Regions from separate parts of the Homo sapiens genome. Here region 2 is linked to region 1. Evidence: promoter capture Hi-C in 16 types of primary human blood cells and fetal thymus (Javierre and others, 2016). All regions are on one chromosome and are shown on one strand. Each heading gives the region's core, a stretch centred on a gene start or on the middle of the fragment in contact. The rest is flanking DNA. Distances are from core to core; before and after follow the strand shown.

What was found. The method cuts DNA at HindIII sites, captures the fragments that hold promoters and counts their contacts. A CHiCAGO score of 5 or more calls a contact.
Region 2: a contact is called between a fragment that was not itself captured here and the fragment with the promoter of FBXL3 in region 1, in 1 of 17 cell types (total B cells). The highest score is 7.2, in total B cells.

Annotation. Positions count from the first base shown.
Region 1 is chr13:77,022,758-77,028,470 of GRCh38, reverse strand. FBXL3 (F-box and leucine rich repeat protein 3) reads left to right here and starts at 1,312. Exons shown (of 5, transcript NM_012158.4): 1 at 1,312-1,644. RefSeq lists silencers at 1,192-1,241, 1,412-1,691, 1,712-1,771. The HindIII fragment of the contact is 14,791 bases long and covers 1-1,345 here.
Region 2 is chr13:77,255,517-77,261,466 of GRCh38, reverse strand. It overlaps MYCBP2 (MYC binding protein 2), which reads left to right. Exons shown (of 83, transcript NM_015057.5): 12 at 92-296; 13 at 875-1,039; 14 at 3,638-3,796. Among named protein-coding and RNA genes, the nearest start is that of MYCBP2, 69 kb to the left of the region's middle. The HindIII fragment of the contact is 2,125 bases long and covers 1,269-3,393 here.

The DNA of each region.
Region 1 (5,713 bases), core at 63-2,562:
TCATTTTATTATAGAAACAGTCTCACTCTCTCACCCAGACTGAAGTGCAGTGGTGACATCATAGGTCACTGTAACCTCCTACTCCTGGGCTCCAGCCATCCTCTCGATTCAGCCTCCTGAGTAGTAGCCGGGATTACACCAAGCTCGTCTGATTTTTTAAAATTATTACTCTTCTATTTTTTTGTAGAGACAAGAGTCTGGACATATTGCGCAGGCTGGTCTCCAATTCTTGACCACAAGCAACCCTTCTGCCTTGGCTTCCCAAAATGTTGGGATTACAGACATAAGCCTGTACCACTCCTGGCCTCACACTGAACTTCGACGTAACTTTATACATGGCTTCCTAGCTCAATTTCTTGAGAAAACGGGAAGAACGGAGAGCTCCCTGGGCACCACTGCTTTTCAGTGTCTTATACATGGGTCTGAGTGTTCTAAGACATCTTTGAATGGAAAACTACTTTCTCTCTTTTTTTTTGGAGGTGTAGAGAGGAATGGCGCATGATTCAACTTAATGATATTGCACCTAAGAATGTTTCTAACTGTAAGAAAACGCAGTATCAAAAAATCCAAACTTTAAAACAAGTCAACTAGGTAGCAGTTACAAAGATGCCTTGATTTACAAAAGGATTCACCAGAGGTTTTCTTTTCAGCAGCTTTGTAATCCTTTACTTTCCCCATTGCGTTTCAAAAGCTATTTACAAATTTCAGGACTCTATTTCATAAAGCAAATGTCGTTTTTAAAATGTAATAACTCTAATGATAAAAGCCACTTTAGAAATATTGGGAAATACAAATATTTGAAAAACAAAAACCATGTGCAATCCCAGCGTTAATACTCTCACTATTCTGGTACATTTCCTTGGCATCTTTTAAGCACCACTTATGCACATCGATGCGCGGGTCTTCGGAGACTGTATTTAACTCCTCGGTTTCAGGCATCCGGGGCGGCCACCCGCGGGCCGCGGTCCCCAGCAGGCTCCGGCGAGACTCCTTCCTTTCTTTTTTCTGCTCCACCTCCCTAAACCTTCCAGTTTCAGCCACAGATAGTCTCTTCCACATATAGCTAGCTTCAGCCCTCCCACATTCCATCTCAAAACAACAAAAAAAATCCCCTTCAAGCGGGAGTCACATCTCTGGCAGGAAGGCAGAGGCTCGTCCCACAGCAAGGAGACTGGGGCGGCCGCAGCGCGCGCTCCCGCTTGGGCGCGGCCCTACTCCCGCCGGGCTCCGCCCCCCCCCCGCCCCCTTCCCGCCCCCTTGGGCGGGGACGCGCCAGGGAAGCGCGCGGCCGCGAGCCCTGGGCGCCATTTTAGACTCGCTGTTTGTGGCCCAGGTGCAGGAAGCTTACGCGGTGGCAGCCGCTCGCTGAGGTAGTCTCTCGCGGCGCCGGGGATCCCTGAACACAGACAGCGCGGGACTGAGAAGGAAAGCTTCTTTCTGGGCAGCCAGAGCCGCAAAGGTGGAGCCGCGTTGGCGCCCTCCGCGGGACCAGCGCCTCGGATGCGGGCGGAGCGCGGGGGGCCGCGGCTGCGGGAGCGCGAAGCGGGGGGCCAGGGGCGCCTCATGTGAGAGCCGCGGGACCTGCAGCCGCCGCCGTCCCCGGAGCACGGGGTGGTGTGTGGGGGAAGCCGCCCCCGGCAGCAGGTAACGGCGGAGGGGCAGGGCCGAGCCCCGCTGCGACGGCGGAGCCGGGGAGGGACCGCGGACCGTCTGTGGGCGGGCCGGGGTGGGGTGGGGTGGGGGGGGGCGCGGGGGCCGGGGCGCGCGCGGGCCGCTCCTCAGGAGTGCCGGGCGGGGCGCGGGGCGCGGCACCCAGACCTTGGAGCTTGCTTGGGGGCGTTTCCCCGCCGTGCCTGCTTCCAAACATGTCAACAAGGCGTGGTGCGTGTGCGGCGGCCGCCTGCAGCCTGCCCGCGACGCCGCCGCTCCCGGGTTCGCCGCGGCTCCTGCCAGGCTTTATGACCCTTGGCGGGGGCTGGTGACAGGCACCATGGAGCTCGCACTCTGTGGGCTCTCCCGGCGTCGGCTACGCCCGTGCTGGTAGCTTGAGCAATGAGGCACTGAAATGTCAAAGCAAACTGCCCAGGGTGGGGCGCATGAGAAATGTCAGGGGAAGCCAGTCGGTGGGGAGGTGGCGCAGGGAGGAGGGGACGCCCCTGCCGCTTAGCCAGGCGAAAAACTTGGTCAACTTGTGTTGAGCGGATTCGCGTCTGCCTTTGGCGTGGGCAGTCCTTTAGGTGGGGTTGCAGACAGGGGTCAGGAAGCAGCCCAGTAAATGGTCTGTATCTCCAAGCTGAGAGGTGAGAGAGATCATTTTTATTTTGTCGTTGCTAATGATATCCAGTTGAGTGACCCAGATTTTTTAATTAGAATCCTCCTTTTCTAACTTGAAAAAAAAGTAACTTAGTTTCTGTTATCTCTGAAATATTTATAAAAATACCATCAACTATCAGTTATCTATCTATCTATATGACCTGTAGACAGATTTTCGCCACTGTGCGCTCTCTAAGCATTTAGTTGTGAGTTAACCTCTTTATAGTGTTTTATTCTTGTAGTTCAGCCAAAGAATGCATATTAGTTTGATATTAGTAAAAGCAGAACAGAAAGGAACTGTGATGCCAAAATAGGCTTTTTAGAGTTAACTACAAATGAGCATTTAAAATTATTGCATGCCCAGTGTAAAAGTGCCTAATACAACGATGCACACGGCTAGCTGTTCACTTCCGGTCTTCACCTAATGAAGTTGCTTCTTTCAAAGTTTTTTTTTTTTTTTTTTTTTTTTTGAGACAAGGACTCACTTTGTCACCCAGGCTGGAGTGCAGTGGCGCGATCTCGGCTCTAGCGATCCTCCCACCCCAGGCTCCCTAGTAGCTGAGACTACAGGCATGGGCCACCATGCCCAGCTAATTTTTGTAGAGACAGGTTTCATCGTGTTGCCCAGGCTGGTCTCAAACTACTGAGCTCAAGCGATCCGCCCGCCTTGTCCTCCCAAAGTGCTGGGATTACAGGCGTGGCCCACCGCGCCCACCTGGAAAGTTTATGGAACATAGAGTTAGTTCACTAACTCCTTGTGCTGCTCAGCTAGTCTGTGGTCTTTCCTCAGTAGTTTGCTATTTAGCAGTTTGTAGTCATATCAGTCCCTCACCAAAAGCTGTGGTGGCCTAAGTTGCATTATTTGGGGCCTAGAAGCTTTGCAGGAAATTAAACTGCCAGAGCCCTGAAGAGGCCTAGTTTTGGTGCTCTAGATTTCTAGAGTCTAGAATGTCTCATTGACGTTTTATAGTACAGCTTGGTTCTCCACACTTCTTTTCAAATATAGGAGGTGTTTTCACTTTGACAAAAGTAGGAATTATAGGGTCCATTGATGTAAATTATTTGCAGGCTGGAAGATGCTCTGAGATGTTTAATTTTATGTATAGCAGAGTTTCATGTGTAAATAGATTTAATAAGATACTATTAAAGTAGTGTAAATTTTTTCATACATAAATGAAATCAACTTGGAAAAATTGACATTTAAAATTTTAAGTGTCCACTCACTTCTGTTATTTTCATGCACAAATGAGGATAGTGCAGAGGATATTTTTATTGGAATTTGGCCTTACATTTTTTTCAATTGCTTAATGCACTATAATTGTAACATAGACATATTACGTATGACAATTAACAGACTTAATTCAGCTATTTGTAAACTGGTAAGTTCTTAAAATAGGCTTTGGTGATCATATAGTGTTTTTATATCTAGATCAAGAGATACTGTCCCTTAGTGTTGCATACTGTTAAAAAAAATTTTGTCAACTTCTTTAACCTGAACTTGGAAAGGTATTTAAGTACATTTTATTTAAAACAGTACTATAATAGACAAAAGAAAGTTTCTATTTTTAGGACCAGCAAAGTATTTATTAGCAAAGACTATTATGTGAATAAGGCTACCATTTTATTTTTGTTTATATATCCATATACTCTAAAGTAAAATGAATCATTCCGTCTTTAAGTTGTCTAGTTCTGGTTTTAGAAGATTGTTCTCCAGAAACAGGCAATCAGTATTCTATAATAAGGTGTAGAAATTGCAAAGACTGTCATTCTTTTTTGAATCTCTGTATCTCAAAATTGTGAGTAGTTTTAGGTGGTCAGAAGAGAAATTATAAGCTCTGGATAGCAAACACTTTGTTCTTTGACCCAAATTTTATATACTAAAATTAAAGTAAGCCTTCAGGGTAAGTTAAAGCAGAAAAATGGGTCATAATAACAGTGTTATCTCAGCCTCTAGTGAGGGATTATTATTAGAAGAGACTTAATATTAAAGATTACAGTGTAGACTATACACTTTTCTCTAAACTTATTAAAAAAAAACTAATCTCAAGTCACACATAATTTCCAGTCTTCCATCAGACTACCTTCTTGCTGTCACCTCTGTCATTCTATTTTCTCTCTTGTTCTCTCCCTGATCAGTAGGGTATACGTAATATATTTTATTCACATAGTTGGGAATAGGAGCAGTGAAGAATAGGCAGTTTATTGCACATATGCTAAGACGTCTTTGACTGACTTTCATGGCATTAAGGTCAGAGGCCTCTGCCATTCTCTTTTTACTCTCCAGCCCTCAATCCTCTTTCACAAGTTTTGCGAGGTACTGGGTGGAGAAAGTCTGCAGAAACATTTGTTTTACAGTAATGCATATGCATATCCTTCATCTCACACAGGAATGAGAAATTCTTTTATGCTGATAGGCCAGAGGAGTGTTGGAGCAACAAGCCATCTTTCTGAAAGATTGTGACCCCAAGTTTAGGTCGAAACCACTACCCTGCCAGAACTGTTCTCTAGAAACAAAAGTATTACAGGCTCTGAACTAAGTAACTACCAGTGAGTGGTCTGCAGCCATTTAGTTTAGAGCCTGCTATACTTTTCCAAAAAGTCCGATTACACGGTAATGCATTGATAGTAAAAGAAAATGTGTAAAACATAAAAAGGGAAGAGATGTTTGCAAGAAAAAAAAATTACCTGTAATCTGCCGTCTACTGTTGGTTACTATAATAATTCAGTGAGTCTACTTCCAGGGTGTGTTTTCTCGTACACAAGCTCACTTGCCCTGTCTCTCTGACACACACACACACACACACACACACACTCTCTCTCTCTCCATTTTAAAGCAAAAATAGAGTCGGGTGTGGTGGTGCATGCAGATACTCTGGAGGCTGAGGTGGAAGGATTGCTTGATCTCAGGAGGTCGAGGCTGCAGTGAGCCATGATCGTGCCACTGCACTCCAGCCTGGGTGACAGAGCGAGACCCCATCTTGAATGAATGAGTGAACGGAATGAATGAATGAGTGAACGGAATGAATGAATGAATCATTCTCTGCCTTCTGGGTAGTAACCCTGGTTTTTAGCATGTTGTGTACTTTAATGTCGTTAATGCTGGACTGCTTTCCTACACAACAGTCATATCTCAACAGTTCAACAGTCGTATCTCCCCTTTGAAAAGCCTTAATAGTATTGCATTTCTCACAGAAACCCTGTTTTATTAAACTAATTTTGGAAATTTAAGCACAGGAATATCAAGTAATTTGCTCAAAGCCACATAGCCAGTGAGAGGTAGAGCCAGAATTCAAACCCAAGGAGCTTGGTTCCAGAGCCCATTCTCTTTAGCCATAATACTGTTTTGCCATGAAAAAACTATCTTTCAAAGAAACTAATGGAATGAAAGTGCTAAGAATAC
Region 2 (5,950 bases), core at 1,082-3,581, 230 kb before region 1:
TAAAATATTGATGTCCTTTTTTTTCCTCATGTGAAACCTGATGCACTATTCCAAAAAGTACCATAATTCCTTTTTTTTTTTAATACATAAGATATATTACACTGGCAAATACCAGAGTCTTGGAATCAAACAAGGTGGTCCTTCAGCAGGAAAATGGGTTGAGCTACCAATTACAAAATCTCCAAAGATAGTACACTTCTCAGTTGGACACGATGGCTCTCACGCCCTTTTAGTTGCAGAAGATGGGAGCATATTCTTTACAGGATCTGCTAGTAAAGGAGAAGATGGAGAATCAAGTAAGTTGAGTGATCAACTATGCATTTAATAAAAATAAATGCTTTATTTTAGTAAAAATAAAACTTTATTAAGATAAAGTTTATGAATTTCAATAACACCACACCAACTTTATATATATATCATTGACTTGATGTAACTGCTTAATAAATACATATTGAATGAATGAGGAACTTATTTTACTTTCCAGGATCTAACAAGAATACATGTGAATTACAACTTGGGAAAAAAAGGAGATTTTAGATATGTGTTAGTAGAATGGTATTAATAATGCAATAGCTAATTTAGAGATTGGGCCCTCCAGGAGTTTGGTAGAAAACTAATATTACTCACTGAGAATTTGAATGTACTTCAGGGAATGAGGATCTAGCAATGATAGCGTAAATATTAATTGACCAGATGAGGCTAGCAGGTTCACTGATTTTAAATGACATGTTGGGAAGCCCAGGCCTTTGTGAAAATAAACAAATAGTGTCATAAATGCAAATAATATGGGTTTTTTTTTTAGCTTTATATACAAACCATTATTATTATTATTTGTACATAGAGGTCTTGATTTAATCTAATTTCTTTTTTAAAGCTAAGAGCAGACGGCAATCCAAACCTTATAAACCTAAAAAGATAATTAAGATGGAAGGAAAGATTGTGGTATATACAGCCTGCAATAATGGAAGTAGTTCTGTTATTTCTAAAGATGGAGAACTCTACATGTTTGGAAAAGATGCCATTTACTCTGATAGTTCAAGTAAGTTAATAAAAAGTTTTACTTTTATGCAAAGAAGTTTCAATACTAGTTATGTATGACAAAGACATATCTAGAAAATTTATGTTGGTGGCATGCTTTCTCTACATTTTTTACATTTCCTTCCAAATGTGAAATATTTCGAAAGAGAAATTTTCTGTCATATCTTGTCACTAGGAGCACTGTCCCTAGTTTCATGCAAAGCTAATCATAGAGCTTGGCAAGGGAAGCTTCGCTGTAGCTGTGACTTCTGTGGATGTTTTCCCTAGACTCAGGTGCTTATGGGACATGTCCCTGGGACAGTGGTAGTATCCTGAAGAAGTGATTTTCATGACATAGCTAGTTTATAATTGTTGAAGTATTTTATCTCCCCCATTAGGGTGTTTGGCTGGGATGATCTGTCTTATTTACTATTCTATCCCCAGTGCCCAGCACAGTGTCTGGCACATTGTAGGGTCTCAAGAATTATTTTCTAGTGCCTGGGTGACTGATAAACCAAAAGTTTGAGAAGTGGATATGAGGGGTAGAACTAGCTAAATGGTTTTATATTTATAAATGCTAATCTCAAAAACTTGTCATATTTGGTTACTAGATTTTCTTTCTAGCAGCTAGAAATGAATATAATGAGTGAAGCATCCCACTTGGAAGGATTTTATGTGTGATAAATATGTAAAGCCTTTGAGTTTCTTTGTAAAAAAGGAAACTAGAATTAATGAAGTTTATGATTAGAAATATATGTAATTGTCCCATGCTGGGGAAATTACACCTGTAGAACATTTATAGCAATTAATTATTAAGTGGAGGTGTACCCAGATGATAAGTGAACTGGCTTAATGTTGTAATATTTAGATTCTCAATTGGCTGCAGCTATCAGAGTAAATCAAAATTTGGGAGTGGGTTCTTGTACAGTTTAAAAATAATATTCAATATAATTGTTGCTTGCTAACATCCACTGGGTAGAGCTGATGGAAACTTGTATATTTCTTCAACATATATTTATTGAGCATGGGTGATACATTAGTGATTGATGGACCTGACAGACCTGGATACTGCCTTTTTGAGGATCCGAGAGACAGTTGGGTATTACAGAACTTAAATATTGGGGAAGTGGTATTGAATGGTTATGGACATAGACTGAGATCCTAGCACCAACACTTTTTTTTTTTGAGAGGGAGTCTCACTCTGTCTCCCAGGCTGGAGTGCAGTGGCACAATCTCAGCTTACTGCAACCTCTGCCTCCTAGGTTCCAGCGATTGTCCCACCTCAGCCTCCCAAGTAGCTGAGATTATAGGCACGTGCCACAACACCCAGCTAATTTTTTGTATTTTTTGTATTTTTAGTAGAGACGAGGTTTCACTGTGTTGGCCAGGCTGGTCTCGAACTCCTGACCTCAAGTGATACACTCGCCTCAGCCTCCTCAAGTGCTGGGAATACAGGCGTGAGCCACCGCGCATGGCCCTTGGCACCAACGCTTTTAATTGGGTAACAGTTTACTTAATCTTTAACTGGGTAACAGTTTACTAAACATTTAAGAGTTTTCTTTTTGTTTTTTTCTACCTGCAAAAAATAGATAATGATAGCACCTGCTTCATATAGTTGTTATGAAGATTATAGGAGGTAGAACTTAAGAAATGCTTAGCACATCATGTAAGGTCTCAAAGCATGTCAGCTAGTACTGTTAATAATAATAATAAATAACTACTGTTTTATATATATACACACACCCTTACCTTTTTCAAATGTGCTAAATATTAAAAGTGGAAATTTTTGAGGTATAATTAACAAAAAGACCTAAACTAGTGAAAGGTGAAAGTGAAGGCCACCTTAAGGTAGTGATATCTGAGCTAATAATGTAGAACAGTTTTCCCAAAGCATAATATGAGATTGATACTATTTGTAATTTAAATAAAACAAATACTTGATAACATGTTTTTATTTTAATGTATATTGGAAAAATAATAATCTTTGATTGTTAATGTTAAAGATGCTTCAATCAATTTAGAGTTGATACAAAACATATTAAATAGATAATATGAGTGGCACTTGGATATGACAAATATAATGAAAGTAATACATGAATAAGTGAAGTTTAGAAAATAACTGTGTATTGGATTGTGGAAGAAAGCATTGTAGGTTGAAAAGGATTAAAAAATACTGTTTTGAAAAGTCTCACTGGTTTCTACATAAACAATTTCATGTCAATATACTATGGCAAGTATTTTACTTTGTTTTGCTGAGGCAGGTCAAAGCAGGTAAAATAAATTATTTATGGACTCCTTTGTGCTTAGACCAGAAAAGTTTGAAAGTACTGTGGAGAGGTATTACCATTTGGAGGAAGCATTCAGGAGAAGTAAGCTTGAGAGAAAGCTACAGTAAAGATATGTCCCAAGTCTGGATGATAATGTTTTAGGATTCACTGAAGCTACGTTACAAAGTTACAAAGTTAATTCAGTGATACTCTGCCAGTCTTTTGGCTACTTATTTCTCATTTTGTTGAGTTATTTTGCCCCAGAAATAAACGGTTCTGCATTGAGGTAGTTCTTTTACTAGGCTCAGAAGGGCCTTTTTGTTGTTTTTACTAAATTTGTTTCTTTCCTATAGGTTTGGTAACTGATTTGAAGGGCCATTTTGTAACTCAGGTAGCTATGGGCAAAGCTCACACTTGTGTTTTAATGAAGAATGGAGAGGTGTGGACATTTGGTGTAAATAATAAAGGACAGTGTGGACGAGATACTGGTGCCATGAACCAAGGTGGGAAAGGTAGGTCTTTAATTCTTAGATATTAAAATTTGTGTTGTCTTTTCATTAGTTTTTCAGAACAACATAGTGAAAAGTCTTGTTCTTTTCAAAATGAGTGGCTCTTCTTTTTCTTTTTGTTCCTATTTAAATTTTTTTTAAAAATTTTATGGGTAGATAGTAGGTATATGTATGGGGTACATGAGTTGTTTTGATACAGGCCTACAATGTGTAATAATAATCACAGGGTAAATGGGGTCTCCATCATCTCAAGCATGTATCCTTTCTTTGTGTTATGAGCACTCCAGTTATACTCCCTCAGTTGTTAAAGTATACAAAAAATTATCGCCAACTGTAGCCACCCTGTTGTGCTATCAAATAGTAGATCTCTTGTATCTAATTATATTTTTGTGCCAACTAACCATCCCATTTCCCACCCACTCTCCCTGACTACCCTTCCCAGTCTCTAGTAACCAGCATTGTACTCTCTATCTTCATGAGTTCAATTGTTTTAATTTTTAGCTCCCACAAATGAGTGACAACATGTGAAGTTGGTCTTTCGGTGCCTGGCTTCTTTCACTTAACATAATATCCTCCAGTTACATCCTTGTTGTTGCAAATGATAGGATCTCAGTGTTTTTTATGGTTAAATAGTACTACCTTGTGTTTATATGCCACATTTTCTTTATCCACTCATCTGTTGATGGACACTTAGGTTGCTTCCAAATCTTGGCTATTGTGAATAGTGCTGCAATAAACATGAGAGTGCAGATATCTCTTTGATGTACTAATTTCCTTTCTTTTGGGTATATCCATAGCAGTGGGATTGTTGGATCATATTGAGTTCTAGTTTCAGTTTTTTGGGGAAGCTCCATACTGTTCTCTCCAGAGTGGCTGTACTAAATTTACATTCTCACTAACAGTGTACAAGTGTTCCCTTTTCTCCACATCCTCTCCAACATTTGTTATTGCCTGTCTTTTGGATAAAAGCCACGTTAACTGGGGAGAGATGGTATCTCAGTGTAGTTTTGATTTGCATTTCTCTGATGATCCATGATGTTGAGCACCTTTTCATATACCTGTTTGCTATTCATATGTCTACTTTTGAAAAATGTCTATTCAGAACTTTTTCACATTTTTTAATTGGATTTGAGTGGCTCTTTGACGTTATATTTGTGAATTAGGAAAACCACTGAATTTCTTATTTATTTGATAATATTTACTGATAAAATATCACTGGAAAAACAAATACACTTTAGATTTTTTATTTTTGAGCAAATGTGCTGGCTTACTCCAATCATCTTCTAAATTCTACATAAAATAGTGCTTCTTTGGCTTAGCATCTTTGATGACTGCATTACTCCAGAAAAGTCTTTTCCAAACATTTTTTTATTAGCTGCTGTTACACGACATGTTTTAAATTTTAACCATTTTTGGCAGCAATCTTTCTGGCGTATATTATCTTCCCATTTAACAGCACATGCTACCTGTAATTTAACCTGTTCTTGACAACTAAGAGTGATCCTTATGAATATCTGACACTTTACCAAGAAAAGACTAAATTGTAGACACACCTTCTTCACAATATCCTTTGCTCCAACCCTCAGGCCATTGAAGAGAACAAAGGGCTTTCTCCTTTGATTGCCCTGTTTGCTGTGGTCTTGTTTTGTTGTTGTGGTTGTAAATAGCATGTCTACTTCTTGCCCTCAATTTTTATATCTAGCTGCTATCGTTATGTTTATAACTTTCACTCCAATTTCTGATTTTGGTCAAGAGATTAAACCATACATATATATTATTAGAACTAAGCGTTGAACTTTGGTTAAAGTACCAATAATTTCGAGGATTAATGCTGTATAAATTAACAAAACCTGGTTTTTCTGTTTTGAGGCTTTGATGTCAGACTCATCTGGATCTCAGAAACCCACCATTCTTTGTCTTTGCCTTATTCGTGTGTCTGTGTGTGTATTTAAAATGCATCACTTTAAAAATGAGCAAGTTACTAGAATATATTGGCAAATGAAGAAGGAACAAAAGAAAGAAAAGAAATGGATTACTTCACAATGGAAATACTTTGATTTATTACTAAATTAGTGAACTTGTTTTGGATAATAACTGCTAGGACAAAGGGGAGAATCGGGTTTTTTTAATATATAATATGAATATATATTCAGATTA